Linked DNA regions of Homo sapiens: region 1 is linked to region 2. Evidence: promoter capture Hi-C in 16 types of primary human blood cells and fetal thymus (Javierre and others, 2016). All regions are on one chromosome and are shown on one strand. Each heading gives the region's core, a stretch centred on a gene start or on the middle of the fragment in contact. The rest is flanking DNA. Distances are from core to core; before and after follow the strand shown. Region 1 holds the start of CORO7 (coronin 7). Region 2 holds the start of UBALD1 (UBA like domain containing 1).

Region 1 (5,868 bases), core at 606-3,105, 200 kb before region 2:
CAGGAGCAAGAATTAGGGCCCCTCAAGTATTCTCCAGACCCCTCCAAGCAGTACTTAACTGCACTCAGAGCCACCGGCTGTCTTGATGCAAACCTAGGTACCTCCTCCTAACTTTTCTTGTTTGTTTTTTTCTTTTTTTGAGACAGTGTCTCACTCTATTGCCCAGGCTGGTGTGTAGTGGCACAATCTCGGCTCACTGCAACCTCCACTTCCTCGGCTCAAGAGATCCTCCAACCTCAGCCTCCCAAGTAGCTGGGACCACGGGAGTGAGTCACCACACCTGGCTAATTTTTTTTTCTTTAACTTGTTGTTCAGAGGGGTTTCGCAATGTTGCCCAGGCTGGTCTCGAACTCCTGAGCTCAAAGCAGTCCACCCAAAGTACTGGGATTACCGTGAGTCATGGTATCCAGCCCCTCCCCCTAACTTTTCAATGGCTCTGCACTGCAATCAGAATAAAACCCAACTTCTTCCGGTGGCCCTTGGGTTCTGCAGGACCACTCTGGACTCATCTGTCACCATACTGCTCCGGCCATCCCCTCCATCCACTCATGCTCACTTTCCATTTCTCCACCAGGCTCTTTCTCAATTCTCACCCTTCTGGCCTCAGCTAAAATGCCATCTACTCCAGGCAGCCTTTCCTGACCACGCTACTGAGACTGGCCCCCTCCATTCTCCATCCCAGTCCCTCATGTGTGTTCTTCAATGTCGTTATGAAAACCTCCAATGCTCTTGTTTGTCTGCTTGCTGTCTCCCTCATGAGGCTACAAGTGCCACAGGGGAAGGAAAATGCCGTTGTGTTCACCGGGATGTCTCCAGCAGCTTAGCACAGCATAAAGTGGAAGCAGAGGAAATATAGTCCACACTACAAAAACGGAACCTCTACCCAGACTGCCCTGACTTGCTCTGGGACCCTGATGGGGTCACTTGAGGTCAACTCCTAGGCCCAGTTATCGGAGGACACTCCCAGGCCTTACAAATAACACGGAAAGCGGAAGAGCAGAGCTGACATCGTTTCCAAGGCGCACCCCTCATCAGTCCTCCTGCCGTTTCGGGGGTCCGAAGGGTCTCCCGGCACCTGGCTCAGCAATTCTTTGGGGCTCCACCTGCTCAGGCTTCCCCAGGCCCCACCCAGCCGTGGCAGCATCACCGAGATAAAGAAAGAGCTTGCGCCAGCGGCGAGAGGAGGAAGCACCGGCGGAAACCCGAGGGAGGGGCGCGTGCGGCCGAGGGGCTCCCTCCCCACCACTGACACACTTGGGCTCGCCGGGGCCAGAGGAGAGAGGGGCGTCTCCCCACAGCCCAGCCAGGGGCAGGGGCGACCCGGGGCGGCAGGGAGGAGGAGCCAGGCGCCGGCAGCGCCCCGAGCCCCGGCTCCCGGCGAGGCCGACCGGAAGCTGGGAAGGCAGGCGGCCTCGCAGGCCTGGGCCCCGGCTAGGAGGGCTGCGCCGCCTCGGGGGTCCCGGGGCGAGGTGGGCGAGGCGGGCAGACCGCCAGGGTCACCGAGCGCCAGAGCGAGTCACGGGAGTGCCGGACTCTGCCCTCCGGCGGCGACGAAACGGCCCGGACGCCGGGGCCCTGGCCTGAAGGGGGGTTCCCCGGGGATGGAGGTCTCGGGGTTCCAGACGGCCCTGGAGGGCACCCCTGTGGGGTCCGGGCAGGGGGAGGGGCAGCCGGACGGGGCCCGAGGCGACAGCGCCCGGTCCTCGGGCCGGACTCACCTCGCGGCGGGGCGGCCGAGCCTCGGTGTGCCGGAACTTGGACACCCTGAAGCGGTTCATGGCGACGGGCACGGCGGCGGACGCGTCTTCGAGGACCCCGGGCGTCGGGTCTCAGGTGCACGCTGAGCAACCGCGACTCCCGCTGCCTCGGCCCCACCCGGGACCCAATGCCGCGGTCACGCCCCCGGCGCGCCCCACTGCCAATCGCAGCCGTCTCCGGCCCCCTGGGCCACGCCCCCAAGCCCCTCTCCTTTCGCGCGCGCACCACCGGTCCCGCCTCCCGGCCAATCCAGGTACGGCCGCCCCGCGAGGCCACGCCCTGATACCGAGGGGACGGACTGGCGCGGGTGGGAGGTCACGTGGGGCGCAGCTGTCAGCCCACGTCTCCTGCGGTGCTTGCTTGCGTGGGGTCTCGGCTGCAGCATTCGCGATTTTGTGTGCAGGATTTGCTGTGGAGTCTTTGCGGTGTACCTAGCACGCCTTCCAGCACTATCTACCTCTTCCTGTAGAGAGGGGAGAAATTAGCTCCATTTCAGAGACAGGAAACCCCCGGCTAAAGGAGAGTGTAAACTGTCGGTCCCCAGGTCACACCAGTGGTAAGAGGCAGAGGGGGAACAGGGGCCCAGGTCTAAAGCAAATCCCTGTCCACCGGGCCTACTCAAAAGCCTCTGCATCCGGCCAGGCGCTCTGCATCCGGCCAGGCGCGGTGGCTCAGGTCTGTAATCCCGAACTTTGGGAGACTGAGGCAGGAGTATCCCTTGAGCCCAAGAGGTCGAGGCTGCAGTTATCTGTGACCGTGCCACTGCACTCCAGCCTGGGAGACAGAAAGAGACCCTGCCTCTAAAAATAATAATAATAATAGCTTTTAATTTTTCTTTAGTATTTATTCATTTATTTGACACGGAGTCCCTGTCACCCAGGCTGGAGTGCAGTGGCGCGATCTCAGCTCACTGCACCCTCTGCCTCGCGGGTTCAAGCAATTCTCTTGCCTCAGCCTCCCGAATAGCTGGGATTACAGGCGCCTGCCACCGCGCCCAACTAATTTTTTATTTTTAGTAAGAGACGGGGTTTCACCATGATGGTCAGGCTGGTCTCGAACGAGACTCAAGCAGTCCTCCCAACTTGGCCTGCCAAAGTGTGGGGATTATAGGAATGAGCCAACGCACCCAGCTGATTCTTGCATTTCTAAGGTTTGAAAAGCAATGCTTACATTTTATCTTAGTTCGGGCAGAAGTGTATTTACTGTGAACCAAAGTCACTTGTGGTTTATTGAAAAGGCTTTTTGTTTGTTTGTTTTGAGACAGAGTCTCACTCTGTTGCCCAGGCTGGAGTGCAGTGGTGTCATCTCAGCTCACTGCAACCTCCACCTCCTGAGTTCAAGCGATTCTCCTGCTTCAGCCTCCCAAGCAGCTGGGATTACAGGTGTGCGCCACTACTCCTAATTTTTGTATTTTTAGTAGAGATGGGATTTTGCCATGTTGGCCAGGCTGGTCTCAAACTCCTGACCTCAAGTGATCCACCTGCCTCAGCCTCCCAAAGTGCTGGGATTAGAGGCATAAGCCACTGCGCCCAGTCCAAAAAGGTTTTTAGAAAATCATCAGGTTGGCCGGGCGCGGTAGCTCACGCCTGTAATCCCAGCACTTTGGGAGGCCAAGGTGGGTGGATCACCAGGTCAGGAGTTCAAGACCAGCCTGGCCAAGATGGTGAAACCCTGTCTGTCCTAAAAATATAAAAATTAGCTGGGCGTGGTGGTGGGTGCTTGTAATCCCAGCTACTTGGGAGGCTGAGGCAGAGAACTGCTTGAACCCGGGAGGCGGAGGTTGCAGTGAGTCGAGATCGTGCCATTGAACTCCAGCTTGGGTGACAGGGCGAGACTCTGTCTCAAAAAAAAAAAAAAAAAGAAAAAAAAAGAAAATCATCAAGTGGCTGGGCATGGTGGCTCACGCCTATAATCCCAGCACTTTGGGAGGCCGAGGTGGGTGGATCACCTGAGGTCAGGAGTTCAAGACCAGCCTGGCCACCATGGTGAAACCCCGTCTCTACTAAAAATACAAGGCGTGGTGGCAGGTGCCTGTAATCCCAGCTACTCGGGAGGCTGTGGCAGGAGAATCACTTGAACCCGGGAGGTGGAGGTTGCAATGAGCCGAGATCATGCCATTGCACTCCAGTATGGGAGACAAAAGCGAGATTTTGTCTCAAAAAAAAAAAGAAAGAAAGAAAATCATCAGGACAGTGGTCCCACTGGATCCTAGGCGACCGAGGCACAGCTCATCATCCCCTTTCATAGGGAACTGCACCTGCTACAGACATCACAGACCAGAACATCTGGACCACACATTCCTCACCCACTTGGAATTGTCCTATACTCTGTGTGAAGTAAAGAAAATGCTATACTTAAGACAAATCATGCCCCTGAAGAGCTGGGCTCAGGCTCTTCTGCCCTCTGTAAAAGATCTCTGAGCTCACATGGGAGAGTTGCAGCCATTGGCAGCCATGAACTTGGCCAGTCCCATTATACTTCAAATGATCAGTGGTTTCAGCAAGAAATCACAGAGACCGTCTTGTCTCCCATTGCCTTCAGCCCAGCACTGTCGGGGAGCACCATTAAACCCCTTCGCAGCTCTCACAGATATCCACAGCTCAGGAGATGGGGAAAGTGCTCTGTGGAATTGCTGGTCTAGTGAAATGAAAGTGTGGAGGGGGAAACGCTTACGACTTTGTGTTCCCTTTGCAAGTAACATTTGTTTCTCCTTTTTTTTTTTTTTTTTTTTGAGATAAAGTCTCTGTTGCCAAGGCAGTGCAATGGTGTGATCTCAGCTCACCATAACCTGTCTCCTGGATTAAAGTGATTTTCCTACCTCAGCCTCCCGAGTAGCTGGGATTACAGGTGCATACCACCATGCCTGGCTAATTTTTGAATTTTTAGTAGATATGGGATTTCGCCATGTTGCCCAGGCTGGTCTCAAACTCCTGAGCTCAGGCTGTCTGCCCACCTCGGCCTCCCAAAGTGCTAGGATTACAAGCGTGAGCCACTGTGCCCGGCCTGTTTCTCCTTAAAGCTCACATTTTTGAGCTTCTGCCTGGAGAACACGGGATCATATTCTGACTGGCACTGAGGATAGGTGTAGCTTGTGGCTTCTGCAGTCTTTGGCAACAAGCCTGGGATGGATCCATTTGTGTCCAGTTGCAGCAGAAGTCCTTGAAAGGCAGGGCAGCAGTTTGTACCCATGGTAGTAATAAATGCTTGCCCTGCCTCTCTTTTGTTGTGAAAAGCAAATGAAAATAAGCATGAGAAAGTACTTCAGAAACTCCCAAGAGCCATATGCTTGGGAGATACTGATCGCAATGACGATTGATAGGCACGTGGTTTAAAGGAAAAACACACAGTTTTGTTGTGAGAAGACCTGGGCTTGGGTCTTCATTCACTCACTTACTAGCTGTGTGGCCTTGGACAAGTCTTTTCATCTTTCAGAGCTTATTTTATTGTTGTTTTTTTTCTTTGTGGGCGGGGTGGTGTCCGTTTGTAAAAATGGGAATAGTCCTCCCGCTACCTACCTCATAGGGTTGGGCTCATATCAAAATAGAAAACAAAGCCAGGGAACAGTGGCTCATGCCTGTAATCTCAGCAGTTTGGGAGACTGAGGCGGGCAGATCACTTAAGGTCAGGAGTTCGAGACCAGCCTGGCCAACATGGCGAAACCCCGTCTGTACCAAAAATACAAAATTAGCTGGGTGCAGTGGTGCATGCCTGTAATCCCAGCTACTCAGGAGGCTGAGGCAGGAGAATCGCTTGAACCCAGGAGGTGGAGGTTGCAGTGAGTCAAGATCGTGCCATTGCACTCCAGCCTGGACAACAAGAGCAAAACACTGTCTCAAAAATAAATAATAATAAAGTCTAACCAAAAAGAGACCAGGCATAGGCCCAGGCTGCTCTCAGCTGGGAGTCTTTCCCATGTTTTTCTTTCTTCTGTGTGGCAGATCCCAAGGACTTTGTCCTCTCTTTTGGTAATTACCATCATCCACTCCACTCCTTAAGAGTTCTCTGCTTCATAATAGAAAATACTGGCTCCCCAACAATCAGCCTTCCTGCTATCCCTGAAAACAAGAACACACACACCATTTCAACGTGGAGGATTTTTACTGTTCATCA
Region 2 (5,238 bases), core at 233-2,732:
GAGGGAAGTAGGCAAGGAGAGAGGGATGTACTCATCTGGATGGGATGGCCACTGCCTTCCCAGACTGTCCCAAGCTTGGGACATTCTGATCCCCCTGCAGTCCCCAGGAAGCGGAGCCTCAGAGTCCTCTGGCTTCTAGTCCCTCCTGCAGGCCCTGGGATGGCTCCTCATGGAGAAACCAGGTTCCCAGTCCCCGGCTGGGCACAGATGGTACCGGGATGGCTGAGGCCATGACCCTACCCCTGTGAGGGGCACAGCTCAAAGGGCTCTGGCCTCATCCCCTGATACCAACCACCATGGGGTTAATCCTGGGGTCGGTGAATTAGGGAAAGCCAGGTAGCCTCTGGGCAGCACAAGCCAGGAGCACTACTGTCCTATGGGTTAGGAGAGGCCCGGGGGAGTGGGTGCCAGACCGGGGCAGCATCACCTCCTACCCAGCTAGCCCGAAAGCTGGTGAACCGTGTGCACCCTCCCCATTGCACCGGTAAAGGGACAGATGCCCCTGCCAGCCCCAGGAGAGCACCTAGTCGCGCACACGGAGTCCCCAGGCACACCTCTGAAGGGGATACACGCTCATCCCTGTGGTGTAGTGTGGGGCTCCGACACGCCACCCCTACACTCCAGGCCGTGTACACACATCACACCGTGCCGGGCACGGGCGGCATCTGCACACCCGCCACATGTGTACGCGTTGATCACACACCAAACGCACCAGGGGGCTGCGCGTTCACACGCGCGCCAACGTGCCCGCAGGTCCGCCACCTCCCCGGTGCCCGGCCGACGCCGTGGCGCGGTGCGTGCGTAAACACAAATGCACATGGACGTGTGCGCACGCCGCCGACCGCCCACCAGGCACGCGGACCCTCGGACCACTCGCCCGGAGCGGCTCCGCCCTCCGGCCCAGCTCTGCCGAGGCCTGGGGCGTCCTCCTTCCGGCCGCCCGCCCGACTGTCCGTCTGCACCGCGGGGCCGCCCGGCCCTCGGCCGTTACCCGGACAAAAGGGGTGGGGGGGGTCCCCGTCTCGATCCCGGGGGACTCGCGGCCCCGCGGGGGCGGCGTATCCCCGACCGGTGGCCCGGTTCCCACCTCCGCCCGCCGCGAGCCCTTGGGATCCGGACGCCGGGCACCGCCGTCGGGAAAGCGGGTCGGGTCTGCGGCCCGGAGGGGGCGCACAGCCGGCACGCGTCCACGCCGTCCGCCCCCGCCCGGCGGCCACGCGGGACACACTCCGCCCGTGGCCCCGGCCCTCGCCCGGCTCCGGCGCCGCGCACCTCGAACTGCCAGTGGGCCGCCTGCAGCAGTTGCTTCGCCTGGTCGGCCGCGCAGCCCGCCGTCAGCACGAACTGGTTGATCATGACCTGGTGCTTGAGCTCGTCCATGTTCACGGACATGGCGCCGCCGCGCTGCCCGCTCCGGCCTCCCTCCTCCGCCCGCGCCTCCGCCTCACGCGTCCACCATTAGCGAGCCGGCTCCGGCTAATACAAATATTTACTGTGCGGCTCTGACTCACCGCGCCTCGCCTCGCTCCGCCGGCGCCGCGGCATGCTGGGATATGTAGTCCCCACGGTGCGCCGGGCGCCCCGGGGGAGCGGGGCCGGCACCCTAGGGGACGCGAAGCCCGGGAAGGGGCGTGTCTGAGCACCGAGCGCCCGCTGTGCGGATGTCCGGGCCGTAACCCGAGCCGGGCGCGTCCACGTCGTCCTCGTTGCTCTCGGTGGCACCCGTGCCCCTGCTCTGGCACGGATGGGGGTCCGCTGGCGGGGGCCACGTCTGTGCATGGGCGCAAATGCCTGACCACAGGATCTTGGCCAAGGCCTGGGGACCGTGTCTGAACTGTGAGCGCCTACTGTGTGTGGATGCCCGGGCCGTGACCAGGGTTGGGGGAGTCCACGTCGCCCTCGTTGCTCTGGGTGGCACCCGGCCCCTGCTCTGGCACGGATGGAGGTCCGCAGGCGGGGGCCTCAGGTTCGTGCATAGGCGTTTTTGCCAAGGCCCAGGAACGGTGTCTGAAAACTGAGTGCCTAATGTGTGCAGGCGCCTGAGCTGGGACCAGAGCCAGTCACGTCCACGTCGCCCTCGTTGCTCTCGGTGGCACCCACGCCCCTGCTCTGGCGGGAATTAGGAGCCCAGAGGCCGGGGCCACAGATCTGTGCATGGGCGCAAACGCCAGGCCACAGACGTCTTTGCCATGCCCCGGGGACTGTGACTGAACGCTAAGTGCCTACTGTGCGCAGCTGTCCAGACCGTGACCAGAGCCAGGCACGTCCATGTCGCCCTCATTGCTCTCGGTGGCACCCGTGCCCCTGCTCTGGCACGAATTGGGGTCCCAAGGTGGGGCATACAGATCTGTGCATGGGCGCAAACGCCGGGCCACAGGCGTCTTTGCTAAGACCTAGGGACCCTGAACCCCTCTGTGATTGGCATCGCTCTGTGTTAAATAGTAGGCACGCCCTTAAGAGAGGGGTCTCTAGGAATTTTGGCCCAAATCGGCTGGTCTAGGCTGAAAGGCCCGGCACACTGTAGGCGCCGACAAATACTCGTTCAGTGAATGAATGAATGAGCCACTTAAAAGCTCCGCCGCACGTCACCGCCTATAGCTAGCCTCCTAGCTCTCCTCACTCAATCTCTCATCGCCCACTCGTGGCATGGGTCCTTCCTAGCCTGGCTCTGGGCCTGCCCCACTGTAGCCCCATGACCCTCTGGACGGCGCCTGGGACAGGCTGGCGGGGCCAGCAGCCTCTGGTGCTTCGGGGTCCCCCTCCCAGCAGTTCTCCCGCTTTCCCACGCAAAATCTCGTGCTCTTTGCCGGAAATCTCGGCCCTTAGCGGGCGGGCGCCAAGGCCCGGCAGAGCCAGTTCCGGAGCGGCCCCAAACTCCCTTTCCCAGAATGCCTCGGTTTATTTGCATCGTTTGGTCCCGGTGACGTCAGCTGAGTGAGGTCGTGCCTCGACCAATGGACAGCCTCGGGGTGTTAGGACCTGGCCATATAAGGTAAACAAAGCTGGTCGCCCAATGAAGAGGCGGCGGGGGCGGGCGCTGGGCCGGGGAGGCCGGGGGCGGAGCCGGGGGCGGGGCGACCGGGCGGTGTTTACAGACCGGCACATGGCGCTTCCGGTTGACGTTGCTGACAGCTAGTGAGGCTTTAGCCCGCTTCGAGCGCCCGGGGGCGGTAAGGCGCGATCATAGCAGCTCTAGGTGACCTTGGTCCGGCTCCTTGCGCCCCCTGGCCCCAGCCTCCTTCGTTGAGACACTATTTGTTGAGTCTTTCCTCTTTTCCTGGCCCTGACCTAGCGTGGGGCGACAGAAGAGCAATAGCCGGGTGGGGGCTGTGAGAACGGCTGGGGTTGGGAGCGAATTTCGGAAACCCGGAGGACGAGTATAGCCTTGCAAGATGGAAAATGCCCTCCCGGGCTGGCGCGGTGGCCTGTAATCCCACCTACTCGGGGTCCGAGGAGGGAGGATTGCCTAGGCCCAGGACTTTGAGAACACGCCTCTACAGAGATTTACATTTTAAGAAAATTAGCTGAGTTCGGGTCGGGCGCAGTGGCTCACGCCTGTAATCCCAGCACTTTGGGAGGCCGAGGCTGGCGGATCACCTGAGGTCAGGAATTCGAGACCAGCCTGACCAAAACGGCGAAACCCGTTCTCTACTAAAAATACAAACACTAGCCGGGCGTGGTGGCAGTCGCCTGTAATCCCAGCTACTCCAGAAGCTGAGGCAGGAGAATCGCTTGAACCCAGGAGGCGGAGGTTGCAGTGAGCCGCGATCGCGCCACTGCCCTGCAGCCTGGGCCACAGAGCAAGACTCTGTCTCAAAAAAAAAAACCAAAAAACAAAGCAACAACAAAAAAACAGAGAATTAGCTGGGTTCCATGGCTCACACCTGTAAGTAATCTCAACACTTTAGGAGGCCGAGATGGGCGCGGATCACTAGAGTCCAGGAGTTTGCGACCAGTCTGGGCAACATAGTGAGACCCTCGTCTCTACAAAAAATAAAAAATAAAAAAAATTGGCCGGGCGCCGTGGCTCACGCTTGTAATCCTAGCGCTTTGGGAGGCCGAGGCGGGCAGATCCCTTGAGGTTAGGAGTTCCAGACCAGCCTGGTCAAACCGTCTCTACTAAAAATACAAAAATTAGCCGGACATGGTGGCACACGCCTGTAGTGCCAGCTACTGGGGAAGCTGAGGCAGGAGAATTGCTTGAACTCAGGAGGCGGAGGCTGCAGTGAGCTGAGATCGCGCCATTGCATTCCAGCCTAGACGACAGAGCAAGACTGTCTCAAGAAAAAAAAAAAAATTCTGGAGTCCCAGCTACAGATTGAGGTAGGAGGATTGCTTGAGCCTGGGAAGTCAGAGGCTGCAGTGAGCCGTGATTGTGCCTGGGGAACAGCGCAAGATCCTGTCTCCAAAAAATAAAAAATGCCCTAGGGAGGCCGGCACTGGCCCTGGGGGTGAGTTAGGGGATACTGAAATGTGTAAACAGATCTGATCCCTTGGACACGTTGGGATCACTGTGGCTGTGGCTGTGCTGGGATCAGATGGTGGTGGAGAGCTCCGGTCTGAACTAGGCGACGTTCTTGATGTGTCTGGTTCCAGGGGAGTCTGCCCTGCCTTCGGAATTGGATGGAATGGAGGGAATTGCCTCAAGCTGCGGCTCCTACCCGGGCCCCTCAAGCCTGACCAAGGACTCTCCCATTGGGTGGTGGGAGGAGGACAGTAGGGGAACTAGTGGACTGGACCTGAAATGTCCTGGGGTGGGAGGGTAGGGTGGTGGGGAAGGCTTGGGGCACTGAGATAGCGGAGAGGGCTGGGGAGGGAAGGGAGTCAGGGTGCAGTGGAGTTGGTCTCTGAGGGCTGGGGCTGGGAGCCTGGCCTATAGGCAAGGGGCGGACACTGAGTCTTGGCTTTTCCCAGGCAGGCACTTAGCCTCGGCAGAAGCCATCTGACCACGGGAAATACAGTTTAAAATTCTTTCCTGCTGTTTGCGGATCACTTAGGGGCCACAGTATTTTGTAAACCCTGATGGTTCCAAGAGATGTTTGCTCTTGCTAAGAGTTGCTCCTTAACCTTTGCAAAGCTCATATGCATGAATTAATATGGGCAAAGTGCTCCACAGGGTAGGCCCACAGTAAAAACCAGCTCTGAATATGATTCCCGCTATAATAATTACCACTAGGACGACAACACAGTGTGGTAGAAGGTGGGCAGGTTCGGGAGCTAGACAGACCTGGGTGTCAG

The links. Contacts are between HindIII fragments. The CHiCAGO score rates a contact against its expected background, and 5 or more counts as called.
Region 1: the fragment with the promoter of CORO7 here is called in contact with the fragment with the promoter of UBALD1 in region 2 in 2 of 17 cell types (neutrophils and fetal thymus); the score reaches 8.5 in neutrophils.

Annotation. Positions count from the first base shown.
Region 1 is chr16:4,414,741-4,420,608 of GRCh38, forward strand. It overlaps CORO7 (coronin 7), which reads right to left and starts at 1,856. Exons shown (of 28, transcript NM_024535.5): 1 at 1,719-1,856. The coding sequence starts at 1,778. CORO7-PAM16 (CORO7-PAM16 readthrough) reads right to left here and starts at 1,856. Exons shown (of 31, transcript NM_001201479.2): 1 at 1,719-1,856. The coding sequence starts at 1,778. It overlaps LOC124903635 (a long non-coding RNA gene), which reads right to left. Exons shown (of 3, transcript XR_007064963.1): 2 at 5,619-5,813; 3 at 1,985-2,221. The HindIII fragment of the contact is 33,533 bases long and covers 1-5,868 here.
Region 2 is chr16:4,613,406-4,618,643 of GRCh38, forward strand. It overlaps UBALD1 (UBA like domain containing 1), which reads right to left and starts at 1,483. Exons shown (of 3, transcript NM_145253.3): 1 at 1,273-1,483. The coding sequence starts at 1,392. RefSeq lists silencers at 664-833, 914-1,023, 1,064-1,163, 1,504-1,743, 2,987-3,216 and enhancers at 1,695-2,267, 2,268-2,839, 2,677-2,936. The HindIII fragment of the contact is 13,740 bases long and covers 73-5,238 here.